Regions from separate parts of the Homo sapiens genome. Here regions 2, 3, 4, 5, 6 and 7 are each linked to region 1. Evidence: promoter capture Hi-C in 16 types of primary human blood cells and fetal thymus (Javierre and others, 2016). All regions are on one chromosome and are shown on one strand. Each heading gives the region's core, a stretch centred on a gene start or on the middle of the fragment in contact. The rest is flanking DNA. Distances are from core to core; before and after follow the strand shown.

Region 1 (2,700 bases), core at 88-2,587:
TGGTTTTTAACACAGATTCAAACGTTTACTTATAACAAATGTTTAATAGAGCAAGTTGCTTGACTGTTCAAAGCCTCCATTTCTAACTCTGTAAAATGGTGATAATAATCTAACATACCTCCTGGAATTGTTGAGAGGAATAAATGACAAACTATGTAAAGCACTCGGCACACATAAGACTCAGTTAATGGCAACTATCGTTATTATTTTATCTATCTGAGACAAAAAAATTATCTATTTCATTTAAGAATTCTCAATAGCAAAACAAAATCCTGTCCCAGTGTAGAGCGAGGATTTTACGTGCTAAGGTCAGCTATGCTTCCCACTTCCACAGTTAAGCCTTCCAGCAAGACAACTACTAGCCAAAGGACACCAAGAGTCGCAATCTCCCAGGAAGTGGTCAAGAACCTCGTGAATGAGATCCAGGGATCATCACCCTGGCCCCTTCTTCTTCAAGGCGCAGAAGGCTGCAACGACCTCCAAATGACTAGGTGCGGCAGTGCCCTGCAGCCTCGGTCCCTACTATGAAAAGCTGCAACACATGAGGCTTTTGTTATTTTAAAGTGGGTGTGGGGTTGACAGAGAGAGGGATAAAGACTAAGGCAGAAAATTTTTTAAAAAGCCACCTCTACCCACAGCAGTCCCATAACTCGAGGCTAATCACTTCAGTGGAGCCAGGCACAGCGTGGGGTAGAAGCTCAGCGGTTCCCTTTTAGCTGATCTTCAATTTCTGGCGTCTCGAACCCAAGAAATGAAAAAGGGAAGCCATGGGGGAGCAGGAGGAGAAATCAAGGCGCGAAAGGACCCTCAAAGCTGTACTGTCACTCCACGCCCAGGCTGTCATTCTCTCCAGCACAAGCCCCTCGGTGGAGCATGTGTTTAGGGTCTGCAGAGCACAGGAGACAAAGCAGAAGCCCAGCAGCCGCCTCAACCCTGGCATGATCAGGTTCCGCATCTCCGGTTCTCCTCCGGTTTTGGGCCCTCACCTGCCACGAATGCGGTCGTCACGCGAGCAGTTGTGAGATGGTCAAGCCCATTCAGGTCTAGGTTACCCCCTTTCATCCCGGAGGCAGGGGTGAGGTGTTTGTCAAGAGACTTCAGTTGTAGGCGTGGACGTAGGCTACTTCCTTCAGTAACAGCTATAGGGCCACATAAGGGAACCTCAGGCTACTACACCTCAGGAATCTCCGTCACGCCTCTTCCCCGCCCTCCTCGGGTCTCACGCCGAAACCTCACCGGGCGGAACGATTTCCGGCAAGAGCCAAATGATCAGTCCTAACCTTTCTGACCGTGGTTCCAAGGTTCCCCAAAGGACTGCCCTCTAAAGGACCCGGGTAGTTCCGCTTCCGGCAGCGCGAGATAAATCACGAGAGGAAGCTTAAATCTGTCGTTTGAATTTAGGACCACCTCGGTGAGTGGTCGTTCTGGTGTGCTGTGTCATACCTACTGTTTTTTAAAGTGAGGCGTAACCCGACAGTAATTTCAAAACCATTCGCCTCGACCGGCCTAAGGAAGGGTTTAATTGAGTCTGTGGGGAGATTTTGCGCAAGCGCCTTTGAGATAGGAGGGCCTTGGGCGTTGCGATGTCCCGCGCTAGCTGAGCAGAAAGGGCGAGTGCTGTTTCGGGCCTGGGGAGGTGCCTACTGGGTGTAATTGAGTTTTACCAAACGGTCATTTTCCTGCTGATTCTGAGTGTGGTTGGACCTTGCCCTTAAGATTCCGTTAACGAGTCGCCCAAAGCTTAGGAAATGCTCCCTCACAGCGTTTGAGACTAAGCACTTTTGGCCGGCGTTGAAGAATTCTCCCCATTACTTTGATCAGTCATTTAATCAGAAATTTTGCCCCAAATTTAAATACGTGGCGGGGAGAAACGTGAGGTCAAGAGGGAATCCTGTCACGTAGTTTTAAAAGAAAAATGTCCACTTTATCTCAGTGTAGGTTTTTCTTAAATGGGCATTTCTGAACCAAAGTAGATACTTTTTAAAGTGGAAATGCATTTATCCCATGTGGCTTCATGTGAATGCATATGGCGATGAAGGCATTTTTTTGTTCAATGAATTTGTACTCTGAAGTGAACCAGATTACAGAGAAGTGTATTTAAATTTACAGGTCCTTGACGTTGCATAAAATTGTGCGTGTCCATTTTTTGGAGCTTAAAATAGAATAATTCAAATGTCAGAATTCCGATCCAAGTTAACATGTTGATTGAAAATTGCAGATTTTAAGATGGAACCAGCGGGTATTATAACCTTTTAGGGGCTTAAATTGGTGGCTTTGTTTTTAACCCTTGGTGAAACAGTTAAGTCCTAATCTTGACATAATACCTAACTGCCTTACTTTATTGAACACAAAATTATTAAAGGAATTAAGCAATGAGTTGATTTTATTTGCTTTTATGGAGGGGACAAAGTGTATAAAGCTTAACCAAATGTGACCCTGACATTCCTCTTGCAAAACTACAAGTTGTAATCAATCACTTTCATTTTTTCTTATTCCTACATGTTTAAGTACATTAAGTAATGATTTTAAGAGAAATTCTTGAAAATATGAGCATATCCAAAGAAGTCCCAGGACAGTCTTTCTTTATGTAGTAGAAACCACTTAATCCCCCTTGTAAATGATACCTTTACTTAGCAATCAGAGTATAAGAAGATATTTATATTTGTCTCGAATATTACAGTTTCAAGCCATTTTCTCATA
Region 2 (2,700 bases), core at 62-2,561, 4.2 Mb after region 1:
CTCTTGGTTATCTCCAGGGGCACTCCAGCCCCACCCTGGCCCTTCTTGGAATTCTTCTCTTCAGGAGGCCCAGGCGACCACTGCCAAACAAAGAACAAAGAGAGAAATTGCCGTGCTTCTGGGAGTCCAGGCAGTCAATGAAGGACAGACAGGATGTTCACCACCTGCAGACCTAGATATGGTGCTAGTGGATCAGCACAGGGGCATGATGACTGGACTTGGTCACTCCTGGCTTGAAGAGCTGGGTCTGCAGTCATCTCTGCAAGAAAGCCTCAATCTTCAGGCCTAGGATGCAATCTAGTTTCATTCTGCCCCTGTACCGCACTCTGATGTGAATAAGTCACCACAGCAGGGCACTGCCTTCAAACAGATGCCATGGGTCCTTCTCAACAAGCATCAGCAGCTCCTGGGCAGCCCTGCAGATCTTGTCCAGGGTAAATTTAACCCTTCAGATGTCACGTTTGCTCTGGAGGCCATACTTGCCTATCAGTTTTAGCTCTTGGTTGAAGGGGGACTTCTCAAAGGGTCTCCCTGTGATCACACAGGTTTTCCGACCCAGCTTGGGACCACTAGTGTGTTGACTCTGCGTGTCCATCTGTGCCTCACCTAAGGGTAGGTCCCGGTTACTGCGAAAGGGGCTAGAAAAATATATTTAAAAAAATAAAATACACCACATGCGGTGGTTCAGCCTGTAATCCCTTTGGGAGGCCAAGGCAGAAAGATTGCTTGAGCCCAGGAGTTCAAGGCTGCAGTAAGCTATGATCATACCACTGCACTCCAGCCTGGGGGACAGAGTGAGGTCCTGTGTCTTAAAAAAAATATAATAAAATAAAATGTCTAAAGTCAAAGTATGTCAAGAAATAAAGATGCTTAGCTAAGTATTGTATTCAAATACATATTCTAGTACTCACTACACAACATGGTGTAACTCAGTATTAATAAAGTTATATGTCATATCATTATATAACATTTACATTATGCTTTATTGTATACATAATTTTCATTTTGGGGGTGCTGAATTTGTGTTTTCTTTGTGAAATTAAAGAATCATTTAATGATGTCATAAAGTGTGTTTGGTTGCAAAATATTTTTGAATATTACTGGTGTTCAATTTGTGAAATACATGATTAATCTCACAGCATAACCATTTGGAAAGCCAAATGATCCACTTCAGTTTGTGTGATAGTTAATACTGAGTGTCAACTTGATTGGGTTGAAGGATACAAAGTATTGATCCTGTGTGTGTCTGTGAGGGTGTTGCCAAAGGAGATTAACATTTGAGTCCCGGGGCTGGGAAAGGCAGACCCATTCTTAATCTGGGTGGGCACCATCTAATCGGCTGCCAGTGGGACTAGAATAAAAAAGCAGAAAGAAAAATGTGAAAAGACGAGACTGGCTACCCTCCCAGCCTACATCTTTCTCCCATGCTGGATCTTTCCTGCCCTCGAACATGGGACTCCACGTTCTTCAGTTTTGGGACTCGGACTGCATCTCCTTGATCCTCAGCCTGCAGATGGCCTATTGTGGGACCTTGTGATCATGTGAGTTAATACTTAATAAATTCCCATATATATATCCTATTAGTTCTGTCTCTCTAGAGAACCCTAATACAGTTTGTATACTTTATAAATGTGGAATTTCATATATCAGTAGTGCTAAATTAAAGTATACCTTTATATATATAATATAATATATATATTATATTACTTCAGTAAATATATTTGTTCAGTAAATATATATGTTCAGTAAATATATATATAATTCAGTAAATATTTATATATATAAATATATATATATAACTTCAGTAAATATATTTGTTCCAGAAAAGTTACATGTAAGCTGACCTTTTAAGGACATAGAACTTCACATATATATTTTCTTAATTTTTTAAAATTTTATTTTACTTTTAACTGACAAATAATTGTCTACTTTCTTATTTTTTGTCTTTAATCAGCAGTGGCTATGCTCCCACTACTTCAAGTCTTTCTGCCCTTTATACTCTCTATCAAGTAACTAATGATGTGAGAATAAATGTTTAAATATCTTAGAGCTCTCCTATTATAGCCTGTGTACACCTACATAAACACATAGGCATTCAATGCATATTTATTGATTTTCAAAAGGATAAAAGAGTTTATTTTATATATGTACCGTGCCAGTAAAGTAAATCATGTTCCAAAAGTGCTAATGGTATATGTCTTAGTCCATTTGTGTTGCTGTAACAAAATAACACAGACTGGGTAATTTATACAAAATAGAAATTTATTCCTCACAGTTCTGAAGGCTGGAAAGTCTGAGATCAAGGCACTGGCATTTGATGTCTGGTGAGGGCCTTCTCACATGGCAGAAGGCAGAAAGGTAAAAAAGGGAATGGATGCTGTGTCCTTGCATGGCAAAAGAGTGGGAGAGAGAAAATCCACTTCCGTAACCCCTTTTATGGCCTTAATCACCTTCGAACAGCCCCACATTTTATATTACCACATTGGCTAATAAATTTCAAATATTAATTCGGGGTGCGATATTCACACCACAACAGCATAAAAGGTCACTGGGATTATTTTATTCTCCTGAAGTCTTGGGACTATTTAGTTTCCCAATAAGTTTGCTCTTTTCCATGTTAAAAACACCCTAGGTCAAGTCACAGAGAACTTTTAAGGCCAAAGATTATACTACCTAGGGAGTGGTACATTCATATTACTT
Region 3 (2,700 bases), core at 161-2,660, 4.3 Mb after region 1:
TTTGGTTTGGGTCTTTCCACTCGTGACTTTCTATGATTTTTTACTCCCCTCCCCCTATATCCTGTTCCATAAGTACACGGGTGCTCTAGATTTTCCTATCAATAGAGGGCGTCCTCGAGTCATTGCAAATCCTGGTGTCGTTAAACGGAACTGTTCTTCAGAGGAAAAACTTCATCTCTATAAGGTGCTTTATTGCTCCTCTGTTGTAAAATTTGACAAGCTCGAGATTTATAAGCCTAACAATTCACTTTTTATTGCTGCATAAGTGTTCAGCCGCTAGAGGAAAATGCTAATTTTCACAAGTAAACCGCAAGGTGGTTCCTATTTTCAAGACATAGGTCAGTTGACACACTCGCGGGTAAATTCGTACTGTTCACAAGATCAGGAATTGGCTTGGAAAGCAAGAGCGTAGTGAATAGTCGCTTATACCGCAGCCACTCCTCAAGCCCGTGAGCTGCAAGTTACAAACGACTTTATATTGTACAAAGAAAAATCGGGGAGGGAGCTAGAACACAAACAAAAAAATCGGTGACTTATAAAAGTTTTATGTTTTAATCAGAAAAAAAATCATGAAGTGGCTGATGACTTGTGTAATTCACACATCCACCCTGTTTCTTGCCACTGGTACTCTTTCTCCCTTTCTCTTTGTTTTCAGAAAGGAAGGAGGAGACCTGAACAGTACATCCGGAGAATCCAGCAAAGCATACTACGGCATGAACGTGCAAGTGGACAGAATTAAAACACATGCCAGAAACACTAATGGATTCTAAACAAGATGCAGTTTCATTTCCTGAGCCTATACGTGATGTTTTTAACTGTTCTCCAGTTAATATGTCTCCATTTCCAGAAATCTAACAGGAGAATCTCTGACTGCTTAACAGATCACCTAAGCTTGCGATTTGTGCAATCCTTTCTAGAGTAAGGGCTCCCCGGCTGCTCCCCGGCCACTGTGTACCCAAAGCAGCGGCTGAAATAGCCCGGAGTCCAACAGCTCAGCGTCAAGCAGCTCGTGGTTTGTACTTACATCATTTTTTTTTTCAGAGCAAGAGTGAAAGTTTATTAAAAAGCGTTAGAACAGTAAGGAAAGGAAAGGAGAGAAAATAAGGAAAGTACAACTTGGAAGAGGGCCAAGCGGGCGACTTGAGAAATCAAGTGCCTGTACTTACATCATTCTTAACCCTTTCGCTCCTGGAGGGGGCTCAGCGGGATCAGGGGGCCCCTGAACTTCGGAACACGCAGGACCTGGGTGTGAGAGAAGAGTCCCAAAGCTTGGCGTGAGCAATGCACTCGCGGAGGGAGAGAGCCCGGGGCTTGCGGGGGGCTCATCACCCGCTCGTAGACAACGGGCCCCCGCAATCCCTGCGGGCTCCGCCGCTGCTCTCACCGCTCAAAACGGCAGGTGCAAAAAGCATTTGGGAGCCGCTTGCCAGCGCGCGGAGGTAATGCGCTTCCTGTCCATTTATCTCAGGAAACCAGTGCAGCCTTCCCTTCGAAACAAAATTAACCTCTCATTAGCCAGCCACTCGCTCCCAAGAAGGCCTTAAAAGCTTTACCAGCTCGCTAATGTATTTAGGCTTTTCTTCCAGGCAAACGCAGCCGCCGGTCTTGACTGCCATCGCCCAAGGGGTTCCTCTGGGCTCTCCCGCGAGCCAACAGCCGACCTCTCTCCAGCCTAGTCTGGGAAACTCCAGCCAACCCAGGATCCCATTTTGTAGTCCCGGGCAGACCCGAAACCCCTGAAAGAACTCCACTCCAGAAGACGCCAGAACAAGTTCCCACGAATTTCATGGGCGCCCTTCACATGAAAACCTCAGCTCCCCTATCCTCAAGGAACGGGGAAGGGCGCCGGGGAGGGACTTCGGTGGCCAGCTGTCCCTGGGTCGTGGGCGCTGTTTGCTCTGCGGAGCGCCAGCCCTGCACACAGCGGGTGCGGGAAGCGTTGATGGGAGGCTGGAGGGCGGGGTGAGCGTAAACTAGGATCTAGCCGGTTCCAGGCGTGGAGAATCAAATGTGGTCCTAGATCTGTAAGTTGCGAAAAGGGGCTTTTGGGAGCGTCAGAGCTTTCTCACTCCGGTCCCCCGCCGCCTTGAGGCTGGCAGATTTATACCCCACAGGTGGATGGAGACCTAAACAAAACAGTCCCGGCCGCTGCCTGCCGCTCGCCCCCCACGTCCCCCGGGCCCACCGCAAACTTCAACAAAATAAACAACTCACCACAGGCATTCCCTTGTCTGCAGCGCGACGCTTGCCAGCTGGGAAAATAAGCCGCAAGCCACGCGGCCGAGGCGCGGAGGGAAGGCAGCGCGGCGCCCGCCCCTCTCCCCCAGGTGGGGGGCAGCGCGACTCGGGGCGGGAGGGAGGCTCCGCCTCGGGGGCCGCTCTCCCAGTTCTCCGACTCCAGAATGAGCTCTGGGAGAGGAGCTGCGCCCTTCCAGCTAGCCCGATTTCTCCGCCATCTAGGGGAGAGGGCGGGGAGCCAAATCCCTCAGCCCCCCGCACCCCAGCAGCTTCCTCCAGGCAGCTTTCTCCCCAGTCAGCCTCAAATAGAGGTGAACAGAGACCCTCCTCTCCCCCCGGCAACCCCTATATCGCCACACTGCCCCCTGCCGGCGCTATCCGGCTCATTCCGGCACTGCGGACGGCTGGGGGCGTGGGGGCGTAGGGGCGCCGCAGACCCCCGCGTCCAGGTCCTGGATCAGT
Region 4 (2,700 bases), core at 45-2,544, 4.1 Mb after region 1:
TTTCATTTTTTAAAGAAAAGGATTTCCAACTTCTCTTGAAAAATCTGAAATGTATCAACTCTGGATCCACTTTCCACAGCTGAATAGTGACTACTTTCCTTAGGCAAGGTATATGCAGTCAATATTGTCCTTCCTCCACACACACACACAATCTCATATTCATCCCTGACACTGAAGCCAAGAGCCAGTTGCTATTCATCATTTTCCAATGCAGCCCCATTTACTAATCTATATTACCTTACTGGCTTCAGATATTTGAATTTTCAGCCAGGCTGAAGATAAATTAATAATAAAAGAGAAAACAAATGAAACAAGAAGTAGAATAGATAGACAGAATATTGAGTGAATATGAAAGAAAGATATGTTAACATAGTTCATGAGTAACAAATTTAAGGCTCTTCTGGTCACCCATCCTCCTGGAATTTATCGGGTTATATCCACAAACTTAATACAACATTGAATAACTTTATGTCTCTGGCACAAACATGCCAGAGTAACATTTTGAGAATCTTGAGGATGACTCTGGTTGTGAATCTAATTTTAGCAATAACCTTGGCCCTGACCTTCTAGAAAGCAAATACCTTCTATATATTCAGGTACAGAAAGCATCACATTCCTTTATTTCCTTATATCAAATTAAATTTGGAGTTATGCCCACACTCACTATGGAATTAAAAACAGCAGATATTAGTTATCATGGGGAGGCAAGAGAGAAGGGTCTCCCTGGGGTGGATGAATGCTGCCCTGATAACTTGGAGAAGGACTCTAGTCTGTGCTTTATCATCTTCTAAACCTGTGATGTTCATAGAAGACCAGCAGCCCATTTCCTTCATGGCAATTATGAGCACTGGAAGCTTTCACCATGATTCTCAAAGCTACAGCATCCATGCACTTTCTGGAAGAGTCCTTCCTCCTACACCCTTGGCTCCACAAGGGGTAATGTGCACCCTCAGTCACCACACCACTGGGAAGCTACCTGGTGGAGATAAGCCACATTTATCTGTTCAACTCCAAAATCCAGTTTTGGTGCTTTCTTCCTCTGAGATAATCCAGTTTACTTTTCTCCTGTCTAACCAGACGCGGAAAGAGAAGTTCTAACTCAGGCCTTTAAAAACAAATTGCTGGCCACTCCTCTCTTGTTTGGGGAAAGGAGATGCTTTACTCTTCCCTTTTCAATTCACAGTGGGGAAAAAAACACCACTTTAGATTTTATTTTCTTAATAACATTTAGTATGCTACTTAAGAGGGAAAGTTCTGCAAATCCTGCTATTTAAGAGTAGATTAGAAAGCCAGGTGTGGTGCCTCATGCCTGTAATCCCAGCACTTTGGGAGGCTGAGGAGGGAGGATCATTTGGGCTAGGAGTGAGCAGCCTGGGCAACATAGCAAGACCTCATCTCTACTAAAAAATAAAAGAAATAGTTTTTAAATAAAGGGTGATTAGATCTACTCTAGATTGAACCATATAAGAGATTTGCTCCTAGATTAACCAGGCCAACCTAGAGAATAATTAAATTGCCATAAATGAACCCAACTATTAAAACGTCTCTGAGACTTTTTTCTACACAATTACTTATAGAAATACATCTGGTCTGGATCTGAGTCCCACCATCATAGGGTATTAGCCATGTACTAATCTCTTCCATGCTGACCTGCCATTTAACCCATTTTCTCCATGAATTTGAAATTATCTCTTTGGAGTACAAAGAGAGTTATATTTATTATCCTCAAGCTTTCAGTTGAAGGGAAGGATGGAGGAGGTGAGGGAGGACAGTTAGATTCAGGTTCAATTAAAATTTGAAAGCAGATATGAAAGTTAGACTAAATCATCATTCATACAGATTTACCTTCTTCCCCTACTGACAGACAGCCAAATAAATATGTATCTGAATACGTCTTCCTTTCTTGTAATAAACTTAGCTACAGGGAAATAATTACCATTGCAAAGAATAGAGATATATGAAGCAGTTTTCCTGCTTATATAAGATCTCAGCAATTAATCACAATCAGAAAATTTGCTTATTGTATTTTTCTCTCAATATTTTGTAACTTGTCTAATAAATCTGAAATGTTTAGCAGAGTGTCGTGCCATGCACCTGTAATCCCACCTATCTGGGGGGCTGAGGAGGAAGGATTGCTTGAGACCAGGAGTTCGAATACAGTTTTGACAACATAGCAAGACCCTGTTTCTAAACACTTAATAATAATACTCTGAAATTTTTTAGACAAAAATAAGGTATTTCCAGTCACTAAAAATATATAAAGTACTACATCTAAATGAGATTTAGTTATAAAACTAGTTGACTTTCCAAAGTCCCCTTCCTGTGACTGCTTCAGAGATGAATGCAGAGAGCAGGAATCCTGATTATTTCATGTGGGAGAAGGGTCAAGCCTCTATAAAAGCTCTGTACCTTGCCCTGTCAAGTGTGTGCTTGCCTCCAGAATTCAAACTTTGGAAATATAATTAAGTAATTAGGTTGGATTTGCACTGATAGAGTTTTTGTTTTGTCTTTGTTTTTCTTTATAGAAACAGGGTCTCATTCTGTCATGCAGACTGGAGTGGAGTGGCATGATCATAGCTCACTGCTGCCTGGAACTCCTGGGCTCAAGTGATCCTCTCACCTCAGCCTCCCAAGTAGCTGTGACTACAGGCAGGTGCCACCATGCCTGGCCCCTGACAGAAACTTTAAGAAGGCATTTAG
Region 5 (2,700 bases), core at 25-2,524, 4.3 Mb after region 1:
TTCTCTTAAACTGTAGTTCATTTTAGTTTATTATCCTTTTAATCATCCTTTTCTCAGTTTCTAGAAATTGTAGAATGACTGTTAAAATGAACAAATATTCTTTTTTATGTAATTTGGAATAGTAATGCATTCTTTCTGTATCAGAGTCACAAAAGTATAGTCTGAGAAAGGAATAGGTCCCATATTTTTTAGTTTTTGTGACATTTCAGAATCAAGCAACCTTTTTTAATTAATCCTTAGTACTGCTTTTATACACCATTTCTAAATGCTTTAACTGCTTGTATTTGGGAACCGATTTTGTTTTGGCAAGGGTTGAAACGAATTCTTGTTATCTATCAACTAAGTTTTTTTTGCCACATTATTTTTAAGGTCATTAATAAAAGTTGTACTTATCTAACAGATGTGGAAAGATTAAAAGAGAATACAAATCACGATGATAGCAGCAGGGACAGTTATTCCTCTGATAGACACTTAACTCAGTACCATGATCATCATAAAGACCGACATCAGGGAGATTCTTACAAAAAAAGTGATTCCAGGAAAAGACCCTATTCTTCTTTTAGTAATGGTAAAGACCATCGTGATTGGGATCACTACAAGCAAGACAGCAGGTAAACTTGGCAGTCACTTTAGAAATTTTGCTTATGCATGTTTTTCTCCTTATCATGATGTTCCTGTATTTGACCTGTCAGCCAATTCAATCTTCATGCAGTCAAAACAAATCTTGTGAAATAAAGGTGTTGTATATAATTAAGAAAAATGTATATATTTTAAGAACTGAATTTCTCTATAAAATGGATTTTGAATTATAAAATTGAGATCAAAATATGTAGTAAGGTGATGTAGGGAGTTGTATGATTATAAATTGCGTGGGGTTCATTGTTCGTTTTGAAGAATATTGGCTCAAATACTCTTTAAAATATAATAAGTGGGATAAAAGCTTGATATAATAGTGATTCAGGTTTGGTTTAGGAAATTTTGCATTCCATATTTTTAAAAAGTCGGGAAAAATTAATATATGTGAACACATCTCATTGAGGTAAAACTTAACCTCAGCAATCTGGAATATTATTGGAACCAGGAAGGTTTTTTGTTTATTGTTTTTTGAAGCCTTTGAACAGTAAGCAACCTCAGTGTAATAACATCAGAATACTTTTTATTCCTTTATTGATAAAGAAGTATTTTCGGTAGTTAATGATCACTACTAAAAGTAAACTTGAAAACTGAGATTTATAGTATTTATGCTTTTATAGTAAGTAGAAGAAACAAATTAGAAGACATCTTTGTATTTTAGTGTTCATTACAATAATTTCTTTGAGAACCTCTGTCAGCACTATGAACACATCAGTTGTAGAATGGCTGTTATTTGAAGGGGTCAAATAATTAAAAGGAAAAGGCAGATTTATAGTATATATTTCACAGGCTTATGCAATATAGTTACAGTTGTGTGTGTGTCAGTTTGGAAAAGGCACTCATTTTAGAGAATAATTCTCATTAAACTGCCACATTTATTTTTTATCAAGCTGTCACATGTTTGTATGGAGTAAATTTCGTAATGATTCATGTGTCGAGTCTTACTATATAACTAGTCAAACTTGAGGAAGCTTTTAATAGGCATCAGCAACCAGTGAAAAATTTTTCAGCATAGACTGCATTCTAGCATTTTTAAACTTTTTCCTGCTTAGAGGTTGGTAAAAGGCTCTGGTCTCAGGAGTATTTCAGATAGTTGTAATAATCTTAATTTCAGCTTCCAGACAATTAAGATGCAGTCATATAAATGATGTGTAAAATAAAAAGCAGCTAATTATCTAAAATAGCCATGTGAAATTAGATGCTATTTTAGGGGTTTTGTATGGTTCGCTTTAGTTTTATGAATCAAATAGTTTTTCCAAAGAGATATATCCAGTGATTTTTGAGTTAATTAAGTAAGTTTTATAATGCAACACTGAATTTCTATACAATTAAAAACATGTTTTAAGGTATTTTTATGTTTTTTAGTTATCTTTTATTTGGAAACATTTTAATTTGCATGATTTGTCTAAAATTCTCAATTTTTCTTTATTAGATATTACAGTGACAGAGAGAAACACAGAAAACTGGATGATCACAGGAGTAGAGATCACAGGTCAAATTTGGAAGGAAGTTTAAAAGATAGATCTCATTCTGATCATCGTTCTCACTCAGATCATCGGTTACATTCAGACCACCGGTCAAGTTCTGAATATACGCACCATAAATCTTCCAGGGATTATAGGTATCACTCAGACTGGCAAATGGACCACAGAGCTTCCAGCAGTGGCCCTAGGTCACCACTAGATCAGAGATCTCCTTATGGCTCCAGATCTCCATTTGAACATTCAGTTGAACACAAAAGTACACCGGAGCATACCTGGAGTAGTCGGAAAACATAACAAAAACTGATACTTCGTCTTTCTGGACTTTTCTTTTAGCCATATATCATAAACCAACACAGTAATTGCCTTACATGACTTGAAAGATATAAACAGATCTTCTATCAGTAGCAGTATTGTTACTTCTTTCCAGGATGCAAGGTCTATTATCCCAACAGAAGAGAAAATATTTTTATATTTAAGGATTATGCTGCACTGTACTACAAAATTGTAGTACTTTTTTTTGTTTTCTTTTTTAAAGAAATGGAAAATGTTTACTATTACAGGGACCTCAACACTGCCCTCCCAT
Region 6 (2,708 bases), core at 72-2,571, 4.0 Mb after region 1:
AGATCAAGTTTTCTTAACACCATCAATCACATTCTCTTTGGAACACCAAGGTCCAACCCTAATGTGGGAACTTAGGAACCAGTCCATCTCTTTGCCAGTTTGGTGGCCTTGGGGAAAAAGTTGTCTGTTAGCTTTCTCTCTATATCCTTTGCCCTTCAACTTTTCTCCTCCATTATTTACCCTGAGAAACCTGGCAATTTCTCTATAAAAAAGAAGTGGTCATGATGGAAATATTCGATGTGCAAGACTAAAATCTAATAATAGAAAAATTGGGGCATTATGAGTAACTCATAACCTAGGAACTAAACAGGAGTAAATTGAGGACAAAATGACTGAAATACATGAAAACAAATGGCCGTAGTCCATGGATATATTTTTAAGGACTAAAAGAAAATAACGCTTCTAATCCCATCTCTCAGTATTCTTACAACTAATACTCAGTTATTGAGCATGTCTTGCAACATTTAGATGTGTAAGGAAGGAGATACAAGTGGCTCCTGTCACACTCTGGCCAATGTTTAGTGTGTTTTCAATGGCAGTCTTTAGGGACACTGGTCAGCTCCCTCTGGCATCTCTTTTACATTAATGAAAAATAGTAGATGCCATGTTAGATTAGAAACCCCTCTAATTAAGAAATACAGAAGAAAAGAAGGAGCATCCATGACTCTTGAGCAATGAATGCCTCAGATTTTATCTATAACTGGGTAGTCTGAACTATATTACTTAAGTTTACTTAGCAAGTAAAGGATGAAATTTGTTTAATCCATATTTTTGCTTAAAGAGAGGGCAATGAGGACAGTAAAATCCAACCCCTTCAACTTTACCAAGCCACAGAAAAACACCAAACCAGACTAGAAAAAAGTGTAATCCCCCAATGTAAATCATTAAATTTCTAGATTTATCTCCTATATGGAGAGAATTTAAGAATACACATGAGGATAACTGCAAAATAATGCAGCAGCACTTCCAAATCTAATGAAATGTTATTTTAAGTGTTTTATAATATGGTTATATAGTATATAACAAGATCTAATTTGCATATAAAACAAATGTGTTTATTTGCAATATGTTATATAATAATTTTATCCTATTATAGTTTTCACTTTGGCAACAAATATACTTAGACACATTTATTACTATCCAGAGGTCTAAATAATGTTCATTGAAATCTTGGGCATAATAGAATGCCTCAAATAAATAGTAGCAAATGCAGAGCTTTATGACCAAAAAAGAAATAAATTAATAAATTAGATATACCTGAAAAACATATTTAATACACTGGAAAGATACTGTGCTGTGAACACGCAACTTTAGAATTAATAAAACACTGCACATACCCCAAACATCTTTATGTAAAACCAAAGCCTGTGATAACTAGCCCTGAAGACATTCATGCATACCTGTGCATATTATATCTTGCTGTAAGTGAAAATTAGTTACTCATATCATTTAGCACTATCTGAAAGCCTGTTTTTTAGAAAGAAAATAGGCACACTCAAGCAAGCAGATTATAGATAACAACAGAGTTCCTTTTGGTTATTCTTTATCTCCACTATTATAGGTCTTTCTCACTCAGTTCATTCTTGCTGGGTAAGGTACGAAGGGAAGTAAGATAAACAAGTCCTTTTCCAAAGATGTTCACTTGCTCTAAAAGCTATCATGAATTTAATTAAGTGCTACCCACCAATTCTCTGACCACTTTCTTAAAAAAAACCTTAAAAAGCTGCTTAGCTTTTATATAAATGTTTAGAGTGTCCCAGATCTACCTTTAAGAAAGGCCAAGAATGTCTCCCACATTCCCATTATTGGTTTGTCTGTGTTTGAATTCTAAAGACTCTCTAATTTTCAAGGCAGCCTGCCACCACCAAAGAGAAAGAGAGACAGAAGATAATATTAGGAAGAAAAAAAGGCAAACAACCTCAAGAAGAATTGAAAAGAATGAGAAGACAATTGCCTAGATGAGCCTTCCTTTTTCTTTTACTTTGAGATTATTTATCTCATCTTTACTCAGAATCTTTCCTTCCTTGTTATCTAATTTCCATTATATTTACTTTTGGCCATGAGATGATGTCTAGTTAATCTTCCTAGTATATACATCTATGTCAGGTCATTAAATTATATCCCTTGGCCTGCCCTGCCTAACACATTCCTCCACAAACACAATAACCTCAAAGTATTACTTAGATTGGGAAGCTAAGACCCAAAGAGATTGAGCTTTGGCCATTGTCTTAAATGTTTACTTCTTTGTTTGACGAAATATTGGGTTTTTTATATCTTGCACATATTGCCAATTAACCCTAACACAACACCAGTAAACTAGTAAGCTCTATCAAGAGAGACGCTCAAGTTTCTCTGGCGGTCATCCAATGAGTATTTCCTTTTAAGAGAAGTTTCAATGCTGTCTCAGTGTTAAGACAAAAAGAAACAGGAGGAGAAAGATTGGCAACTCAGAAATATTTTCTAAGTATCTCAGATAGCAACAACCTCATTAGTTATTTCTATTTCTGATTCTATTAAATCCTTTTTAAAATTTTAATGAAAAAACACAGTATTTAGGATTTTTGCCTAAAGAATGTCCTATATGAATCCTTTCATTTTATTTTTCTCCTAGAAGTAAAACAATAGTTCAAACTGAGAAAGGAACAGAAATGAGACCCATATATAATGGCTTTGTCTTCTCCTCAACATTCTTCACCTTTATCTGTTGA
Region 7 (2,700 bases), core at 1-2,500, 4.2 Mb after region 1:
AGTTCAAGGTAGATTTAAACAAAATTTTCCTTGTAATTACATAAATTGAGAGGAATTGAGTTATGTCATTTAGTGGTTTGTTAATCTTTCTTTAAGCATAATCAGGAAGATTGCTGTGTTATGTAAAAACTACTCTCTCTTGTTCAGACAAACCAGTAGCAAACTGATTTGAAAGAGACCAAACCCATTTATGAAGTTACATTTAGTTGGGTGGAAAGAGCTGTTGTTTCCTAATTAGCAACTAGAATAGTGTTTGGCAAATAGCATGTCCTTAAATACTTAGGTAAATAAATGAATCAGTGTGATCTCTTACTTAGATTTCCATGACTGAAAGCTTTCAGCTGATATTTTTTTGAAGCAGTTTTTGACATTAACTTATCACAAATAAGAAAACTCAAGTAAATCAGTCAAAGTAAGCAATAAGCTACTATATATTGATACTTAATATCCCTGGTTTGTTGAGGGTCAATGAGTTGAAAGGAGTCCTAAAACAACGTAAGTCAACTGACCTCATGGAGTAAGTTAAGTGCCATTTGTTTGAAGAAACAGGTTTCTCTACATCTTAGCTGTTTTCTCTGAACTGTGGTTTTTAAAGATCAATTCATTTCATGTGTTCATTTGACAAATATTTATGGAACACCTACAGTGTACCCCACACAGTGAATAAAAAACTTTTATAATTTTAATGAATCATTCTGACTACTTTGTGGTTGATTGACTGTAGTGAGGAAAGAGCTATAGCAGGGGGAGATAAGACAGAATGTTGAGTAATCCTGGTTAAGAGGTGAAGGTTTCTGGAATCACAGGCGTGAGCCACTTCGCCCGGCTGTGATAGTTAGCCTTAATGGGTGCTTTCTGTATACCAGACCTTGCATAGTACCTTAAATGTGCTATCTTATGTAATCCTCACAGAAATTAGTGTGCTCTCAAAGAGCTCTATGTCTCTGCCAGTAGCTCTTTAGATAGTGTTTTTGTGACCATAAAAATGATATTAGATTGTTCTACAATACTTGATAGGTGGACTGGTCTGAGAATTTCTGCAGATTATTTAGCATGTTAATAGTATAAATTACTTTTTTGTTGTTCTGTTAACTGCTCTTAGTTCTGTGATGCTACTAATTTTGTTGAGCAGTAGGGCAAAATAAAATCATTCCTAGAGGATTATTAGATGTCATTTGGTTTGATCTGCTTTGCCCTAATGAAGAAATGAATCTAGGTTGTTTAGAAGTTATATTTGGTTTAGTCCACAGCCATGTTCATTATCCTAAGGAGCATGCCAGTTCTTCCCCTTAAAAAAAACTTTTAGGGATCAATTTTTCTGTAACAGTTACTCTTAAAATTCTGAAATTTATCAGGTTGCCAACTTCTCAAATATGGATGAGGATGACATTGAGTTGGAACCTGAAAGAAATTCAAAGAATTGGGAGGAAATTATTCCAGAAGATCAAAGAAGACGATTAGAAGAAGAAGAAAGACAAAAGGAACTTGAAGAAATTTATATGCTCCCAAGAATGAGAAATTGTGCAAAACAGGTGATTTTGCAATTTTAAAGATATTTCTATAAAGTAAGAGTATTCAACCTGGGCTGATTTTGTTTGTTTCTACGAGGTATCAGTCCATAGTTTTCTTTTCTTGTAATGGCCTTGATTTGATAATGTTTGCCTCATGAAATGAGTTGAGAAGTGTTTCTTCCTCTTTTATTCATCTTTTCAAAGAACCTGCTCCTGGTTTCATTGATTTTTGTGTGTGTGTGTGTTTTTAATTTCATGAGTTTCCACAATTTATTATTTCTTCCTTTCTGCTTTTGATTTAATTTGCTGTTTTCTTTCTTTTCTTTTCTTTTTTCTTTGGTGACAGCATCTTGCTCTATTGCCAAGGCTGGAGTGCAGTGGCACAATTCTGGCTCACTGCAACCTTAACCTCCCGGCCTCAGATGATCCTCCCACTTCAGCCTCCCAAATAGCTGGGACTACAGGTGTGTCCCACCACACCCAGCTGATTTTTGTATTCTTTTTGTAGAGATGGAGTTTTACCATGTTGTCCAGGCTGGTCTGGAACTTCTGGGCTTAAGTGATCCATCTGCCTTGGCCTACCAAAATGTTGGGACTATAGCACGAGCCACTGCACCTGGCCTCTTTTATTCAGTTTCTTAAGGTGCAAGCTTAGATATAGAAATGTAATCTCTCTTTTCTAATATCGGCATTTAATGCTACAAATTTTTCTTTAAGCGTTACTTTTTCTGAATCTTCCAAATCTATTTTTATATTTTCCTTAATTTAAAAACATTTTAAAATTTCCCATATGACTTATCTTTGACCCACAGGTTTTTTTAGAAGTATGTTTTAAAATGTTCAGATATTTAGGAAATTTTTCAACTATGTTTGTTAATCATTGGTAGTTTAATTCTGTCATGTTCAGAAAGCATATTTTATGTAATTTTAATTTTTAAAAATTTGTTGGTGTTTATTCAGTGGCCTAAGTAAACAAATACCAAAATTTTGAATAACTGTAATAGTGCCATGCCAAGCTATATTGCCAAAAAGGAAAAAAATTCTAAGACTAATTTCTTTTTCTAGTATCCTTTGGTTTTTAGGATATAAGATTTTTTGTCTTGATTGCTGAGTTTTTTCGTGCTTCCTTAAATTTTAAGCCTGGGGCAAATGAGGGGCTTGCCCCACTCTAGTCCCTGCCCTGCTACCA

What was found. Contacts are between HindIII fragments. The CHiCAGO score rates a contact against its expected background, and 5 or more counts as called.
Region 2: a fragment that was not itself captured here is called in contact with the fragment with the promoter of GIN1 in region 1 in 1 of 17 cell types (total CD4 T cells); the score reaches 6.7 in total CD4 T cells.
Region 3: a fragment that was not itself captured here is called in contact with the fragment with the promoter of GIN1 in region 1 in 2 of 17 cell types (non-activated CD4 T cells and total B cells); the score reaches 8.3 in non-activated CD4 T cells.
Region 4: a contact is called between a fragment that was not itself captured here and the fragment with the promoter of GIN1 in region 1, in 1 of 17 cell types (non-activated CD4 T cells). The highest score is 5.7, in non-activated CD4 T cells.
Region 5: a contact is called between a fragment that was not itself captured here and the fragment with the promoter of GIN1 in region 1, in 1 of 17 cell types (total CD4 T cells). The highest score is 6.7, in total CD4 T cells.
Region 6: a fragment that was not itself captured here is called in contact with the fragment with the promoter of GIN1 in region 1 in 1 of 17 cell types (naive CD4 T cells); the score reaches 5.1 in naive CD4 T cells.
Region 7: a contact is called between a fragment that was not itself captured here and the fragment with the promoter of GIN1 in region 1, in 1 of 17 cell types (neutrophils). The highest score is 7.0, in neutrophils.

Annotation. Positions count from the first base shown.
Region 1 is chr5:103,118,775-103,121,474 of GRCh38, reverse strand. It overlaps GIN1 (gypsy retrotransposon integrase 1), which reads left to right and starts at 1,337. Exons shown (of 8, transcript NM_017676.2): 1 at 1,337-1,411. PPIP5K2 (diphosphoinositol pentakisphosphate kinase 2) reads right to left here and starts at 1,174. Exons shown (of 31, transcript NM_001276277.3): 1 at 987-1,174. RefSeq lists enhancers at 774-833, 884-1,073, 1,104-1,363, 1,199-1,699, 1,700-2,201. The HindIII fragment of the contact is 9,897 bases long and covers 1-1,379 here.
Region 2 is chr5:98,952,264-98,954,963 of GRCh38, reverse strand. All of the region lies in intron 1 of CHD1-DT (CHD1 divergent transcript), which reads right to left. It also overlaps the pseudogene RPS9P3. Among named protein-coding and RNA genes, the nearest start is that of CHD1, 25 kb to the right of the region's middle. The HindIII fragment of the contact is 7,031 bases long and covers 1-2,700 here.
Region 3 is chr5:98,769,140-98,771,839 of GRCh38, reverse strand. It overlaps RGMB-AS1 (RGMB antisense RNA 1), which reads left to right. Exons shown (of 2, transcript NR_033932.1): 2 at 656-2,222. It also overlaps a transcript of RGMB not described here. Among named protein-coding and RNA genes, the nearest start is that of RGMB-AS1, 2.6 kb to the left of the region's middle. RefSeq lists an enhancer at 979-1,479. The HindIII fragment of the contact is 279 bases long and covers 1,271-1,549 here.
Region 4 is chr5:99,020,565-99,023,264 of GRCh38, reverse strand. No RefSeq gene overlaps it. Among named protein-coding and RNA genes, the nearest start is that of CHD1, 93 kb to the right of the region's middle. The HindIII fragment of the contact is 876 bases long and covers 857-1,732 here.
Region 5 is chr5:98,856,091-98,858,790 of GRCh38, reverse strand. CHD1 (chromodomain helicase DNA binding protein 1) reads left to right here. Exons shown (of 36, transcript NM_001270.4): 35 at 401-611; 36 at 2,066-2,700. The coding sequence ends at 2,411. Among named protein-coding and RNA genes, the nearest start is that of CHD1-DT, 71 kb to the left of the region's middle. The HindIII fragment of the contact is 664 bases long and covers 943-1,606 here.
Region 6 is chr5:99,105,038-99,107,745 of GRCh38, reverse strand. No RefSeq gene overlaps it. Among named protein-coding and RNA genes, the nearest start is that of CHD1, 180 kb to the right of the region's middle. The HindIII fragment of the contact is 4,510 bases long and covers 1-2,708 here.
Region 7 is chr5:98,878,384-98,881,083 of GRCh38, reverse strand. It overlaps CHD1 (chromodomain helicase DNA binding protein 1), which reads left to right. Exons shown (of 36, transcript NM_001270.4): 22 at 1-8; 23 at 1,356-1,532. Among named protein-coding and RNA genes, the nearest start is that of CHD1-DT, 49 kb to the left of the region's middle. The HindIII fragment of the contact is 1,827 bases long and covers 337-2,163 here.